Regions from separate parts of the Homo sapiens genome. Here region 2 is linked to region 1. The links are contacts of gene promoters, found by promoter capture Hi-C in human tissues and cell types (Jung and others, 2019). All regions are on one chromosome and are shown on one strand. Each heading gives the region's core, a stretch centred on a gene start or on the middle of the fragment in contact. The rest is flanking DNA. Distances are from core to core; before and after follow the strand shown. Region 1 holds the start of BCAM (basal cell adhesion molecule (Lutheran blood group)). Region 2 overlaps NECTIN2 (nectin cell adhesion molecule 2).

What was found. The method cuts DNA at HindIII sites, captures the fragments that hold promoters and counts their contacts. A contact is called where the count stands out against the background at its distance.
Region 2: a fragment that was not itself captured here is called in contact with the fragment with the promoter of BCAM in region 1 in 1 of the 25 tissues and cell types used here (spleen).

What each region holds. Positions count from the first base shown.
Region 1 is chr19:44,807,805-44,810,504 of GRCh38, reverse strand. BCAM (basal cell adhesion molecule (Lutheran blood group)) reads right to left here and starts at 1,402. Exons shown (of 15, transcript NM_005581.5): 1 at 1,299-1,402. The coding sequence starts at 1,380. The HindIII fragment of the contact is 22,699 bases long and covers 1-2,700 here.
Region 2 is chr19:44,868,892-44,871,591 of GRCh38, reverse strand. All of the region lies in intron 2 of NECTIN2 (nectin cell adhesion molecule 2), which reads right to left. Among named protein-coding and RNA genes, the nearest start is that of TOMM40, 21 kb to the left of the region's middle. The HindIII fragment of the contact is 9,277 bases long and covers 1-2,700 here.

The sequences.
Region 1 (2,700 bases), core at 153-2,652:
GGCTGGGGTGTGGGCTGCGGCTGGGCCCGGAGCTTAGGCGGGATGGATGTGTGGGGGCGGTGAGGGGGGACAGGGCTGGGCAGGTTTCAGGAATGTGGGAGGGACAGGCTGGCTGAGACCTGCCCGGCCTGGAGCCAGAGCCCCCAGCCGCCTCTTGGCCCCCCTCAGTTTGATACAACAGCAAACGGGATAAGTCGAGTCATCTTGCAAAAGGATAAGGTTGAGGCCCAGGATCTTGGGAAGCTGGGCACCTGGACTCCTGGGATCAGAGGGAAGAGGAGGCTGGGGCCTGGTGGAGTAGTTATTGTAGAAAAACCACCACCCTCCCTCACCCTCTGGGCTGGCATCCTGGCATCAGCTCTCAGTGCTTCTTAGAAACTCCCTTCCCTTCTCTGCTCAATCTGGCCCAGCCCTACCCCTGGGGACCCACTGTTGACCATGAGTGTGCCAGGGGCCTGGATTCCCAAGCGCTCACCTCTGGCCCCAGCCTGTCCCCAGGGAGGGGTGACGGGGTCCAGGCTGGTGCCTAAGGCTGGGTCTGATCTGCAGACAAGTGGAGGCAGAGAGTTCCTCTCTCTTCCCCAATCTCTCTCATCTCTCTGTCCCTCTGTCCCCAGCACCCCCACCCCCACCCCCCAGCCCCCGGCCTCCTCTCCTTCTATCCTCATGCAGGTGTGTAAATGTAGCTGAGGCCCCAGGAAGGGGGCCTGTCACTTGGAAACACTTTGTTCCACTGTCACTGCCCGGGGCTGGTGCTCCAGCCCTTTCCTGAGGGAGGCGGGTTCTTTATACTGGACTCTGGAAACTCCTAAATACATGTGGATCGCTGGTGTGGGGACACATGGTCCTCGCTTCTCTAAGGGGTCCCTGGACCTCTCAAAACTTGAGGACCTTTGAGGGAGAGAGCCCTGGGGTTTTGATCCTCTGTGCCCTGGGGGAAGCTATTCTAGCCACTGGAGGCCTGGACTCCTGGGTCTGAGGAAAGAGGGGCTGGGGGCCCAGATTCCAGGGTCTGAGGGAGGAGGCAGGTGGGACCCAGATTCCAGGGTGCTGAGTGGGAAGGGGGCTGACTTCTCTGGTTGTCTCTGATCCACCGCCTGGGTATCCCCAGCTCTCCTGCCTGGCTGTCCCCAGATCTCTCTCACTGGAAGGCGTACCTTCCAACACTCCCATATCCCTCCTCCTTGGGGTCCCCACATTTTGCTTCCTGGGGTCAGGGTAAAGCCCTTTCTCCTCGCTTTCCCGGGGTCCCCAGGGGCCTCTCCCCAGTCCCACCTTGCCCTCAGCCCGAGCCATACCTGGGTGCGCCGCCAGCAGGACTGCGAGCAACAGCAGCCGCGGGGCCCCGCGCGCCTGGGCCGGTGCGTCCGGGGGCTCCATGTTCACGGCGGCGGCGGAGACTGAGCCCGGGCTGCAGCTCGGCCGCTGCGGGGCTGGGAGCCAGAGGCCCCGCCCCCGGCAGCCCCGCCCCGCCCCGCCCTCCAGGCCCCCCTCGTCCCCCGATGCCCGGGCGCGGGGCCAGGACCTCCCACTGCCCGGAGCGGACCTCCCAGTGCACGGGGCCAGGCTCGGGGCTCGTCCGCCCCCAAGCCTAGAGCTGTCCGGGCTTACTGACCAGCGCCTGCAGCGGGGGGCCTGATCGACCAGCGTAGCCAGTGACCCGAGCTGGGATCTCACCAGGCAATCGCGGACCTTCTCCTCGTTATTCTGACCAGGGGCCTTGGGGACTCGTCCCCACTGTGACCAGCAGCCTGGGCTGGCATCGTCGATTTTAACCAGAGGACCCCACTGCAACCTGTGGCCTGCGATGGCCTCTCCCAGTGTAACTAATGGCCCCAAGCGTGCCGTCCGAGTGGCCTGCACTGGCCTCTCCCAGTCCAACCAGTGACCCCCGCAGCCTGACCAGTGGCCCCCAGCAGCTGCTCCCAGTATGCCCGGAGATGTTTTCCCCTGTGGTCAGTGCTCTGGGCTGCTTTCCTCGTCTGACCAGTAGCCTGGAATCAACCGGTTTAATCTCTTATTTTCAATGGTCTTCAAATCCAGGTCCTCCTAGGCCGCTTCGATGATGGGGCTGGGGGTGGGGTACGGGGTGCCCTCTCTGCTTGCTCACCCATGGAAGGCCCTCCCACTCTTCCCCCTATCCAGGGAATCCCAGGAATGCCACCCTCCCTTCCTCCTTCCCGCTCTCTCCTTCATTCCCTCCCAACCTTGTGGGGAAGGGAGGAGTCAGACTGGCCAGAGCAGGTGAGGAGGGCAGGGGAAGAGGCCAGGGCACCTGCGGGAAGGGGGAGGAGTCCAGCCACTGCTAGGAAGCGTGGGTCACAGGTCCGACTGCCCAAGGCCCCTACAGGCCAGGTCAGACTGGGACAAAATCCCCCACTAGATGTCACTAGTTGCCCAGGACAGTGGTCAGAACGTGGGAGGGTGGGGGGTCGCTGGCCACACTGGGAGAGGTTACCCAAGCTTCTGATCAGCCTGGGGGTTGAGGTAGCCCTGGAGCTGGGCTTTGCCTGCTCAGACATACAGAGAAGGCTTGGATTACAGGTCAGCCTGGGAGTTATTAGACTGGTCAAGGTTACTTTATCCATTGGTCATACAGGAGACCAACGTTTTTTTTGTTTGTTTGTTTTGTTTTTGACAGGGTCTCGCTCTGTTGCCCAGCCGGGAATGCAGTGGGCGCAATCATAGCTCATTCAAACC
Region 2 (2,700 bases), core at 114-2,613, 61 kb before region 1:
AATGTCTGGCCTGCACTGCCCTATCCAAGTGTTGCCCATTTTATTTTACTTTATTTATTTTTTAGAGACAGGGGCCCGCTCTGTCACCTGGTCTCGAGTGCAGTGGTGTGATCATAGCTTGCTGCAGCCTGCACCTCCTAGGCTCAAGTGATCCTCCCGCCTTGGCCTCCAGAGTAGCTAGGACCATAGGCATGCACCACCATGCCCGGCTAATTTTTAAATTTTTTTGTAGAGATGAGTTCTTGCTATGTTGCCCAGGCTGATCTCAAACTCCTGAGCACAAGCCATCTTCCCACCTCGGCTCCCCAAAGCTCTGAGGTTACAGGCGCCTGGCCTGGCCATTTCGGTATACTGTCTCTTCGCCCTGCCAGAGATGCAGAGACAGGGTCCAAAAGCCTAGAGGAGGCTGAGATTTAAAAAAAAGCTGGTCGGGCGTGGTGGTTCACACCTGCAATACCAGCACTTTAGGAGGCTGAGGAGGGTGGATCACTTGAGGCCAGGAATTTGAGACCAGTCTGGCCAACATGGTGAAAACTCATCTCTACTGAAAATACAAAAATTAGGATGGGCGCAGTGGCTCATGCCTGTAATCCCAGCACTTTGGGAGGCCCAGGTGGGCAGATCACCTGAGGTCAGGAGTTCTAGACTAGCGTGGCCAACGTGGTGAAACCCCATCTCTACTAAAAATGCAAAAATTAGCTGGGCGTGGTGGCAGGTGCCTGTAATCCCAGGTACTCGGGAGGCTGAGGTAAGAGAATTGCTTGAACCTGGGAGGCAGAGGTTGTAGTGAGCCGAGATCGTGCCACTGCACTCCAGCCTGGGTGACAGTGAGACTCTGTCTCCAAAAGAAAAAAAAAAAAAAGGAAAAAAAAAAAGCAAATCAAGGCCGAGCGAGTAACTGAGTACTGTGGTTCAAAGGTCCAGCTGGAAAGGCCCCCTGTTCCTTTTCCTGTAATCACCATTAGATGATTGAATGACTGGAAGTGTGATAAAGGCAGAAAATCTCAAAGCCGTTTCTTTTTTTTATACCCTTTCCACCTCATTCTCTTGGAAAACATGGAAAAAAATCACAAAAACAAAACTCCAGGAAGAATAGCAGCTCATGCTTATGATGTGTGTCCCCCACCCAGACTCACATCTTCTGTTGCTTTCTGGACCTGGGTATCCACCTCTGAACTTCTCAACACGGTCTGACTCTCCTCTTCTTCCCAGCTCTCCCTTCCCACCGCCTTCTCCCCTGACCATCGTGGAGCATCCAACAAGCCTCCCCACATCCTCCTGGCCGCCCTCCAAGCTGTTAGAATAGTGACTCAGGGCCCGAGCCCACCACTTCCCCATGGCCACCTCCCCTGGCCACTCCACATGCTCCCCATCCACGCCCTCCTCAGTCTCTGCCTCCACCCACTTTGGGGTTTTGGTTGGTGATTTTGTGCCTGGATTGCTTTGGCCTCCTTCTCCAGACCCCACTCCAAGCCCCACTTCGTCAAGGGCACTTTCCTGACCGCCGACTCTGGCCAACTATTCCTTGGTGGCTCACGCATCATGAAGACAGAGGCTTTGGCTGTTTTGTTCCTTACTTCTGCACCAGTGTGTATACGGAAGCTCTTGAGGTTATCTCTCTCTCTCTCTTTTTTTTTTATTAATTTGAGACAGAGTCTTGCTGTCACCCAGGATGCAGTGCAGTGGTGCAATCTCAGCTTACTGCAACCTGCCCTTGCTGGTTTCAGCAATTCGCCTGCCTTAGCCTCCTGAGTAGCTGGGATTACAGGTGTGCGCCACCATTCCTAGCTAATTTTTATTTGTAGTTTTGGAGACCCTCTCTCCAAGAAACAAACAAACAAACAAAAGCTCACTTGCAAGAGCTGCTTGCCTTGGCCCCTGCTTGAAGTGTATATTCAGGGCAACTTCAATCTATGCTCCCAGGTGGTCATCCTCAAGCTTTGGGCTTGATTAAACCCTACACTTAATCATATTTTCTTTTCTTTTTTTTTTTTTTTTTGAGATGGAGTCTCGCTCTGTCGCCCAGGCTGGAGTGCAGTGATGCGATCTCGGCTCACTGCAAGCTCCGCCTCCTGGGTTCATGCCATTCTCCTGCCTCAGCCTCCCAAGTAGCTGGGACTACAGGCACCCGCCACCACGCCCGGCTAATTTTTTTGTATTTTTAGTAGAGACAGGGTTTCACCGTGTTAGCCAGGATGGTCTCAATCTCCTGACCTCGTGATCCGCCTGCCTCGGCCTCCCAAAGTGCTGGGATTACAGGCGTGAGCCACTGCGCCTGGCCCTTAATCATATTTTCTGAGTCTCATTATTTATTTATTTATTTTGAGACAGAGTTTTGCTCTTGTTGCCTCTCAGCCTCCCAAAGTGCTGGGATTACAGGTGTGAGCCACCGTGCCCAGCCCTGAAGTTATCTCTGGATGAGAACAAATGATTGCACAAGAAGAGAGGCGTTTGTGAGGGTGGGGAGGAGAAGAGCTGTCCTTTGTATTATGGAAAACGGCTGTGGTTTCATGTGTTACTGGAAAGGGAAGTGTTTACTCAAGGATAGCACAGGGTGACCTTCTCAGACGCTCTGGGCTGAGAAGGGGGAAGAAAAGGCATCCAGAGTGACGTGGCTTCTGGGAAGTTGCCTAGGGAAGGTGGGCTCCCAGGGGACTTCCAACATATTTTTTTTTTTTTCCAGACAGAGTCTCACTCTGT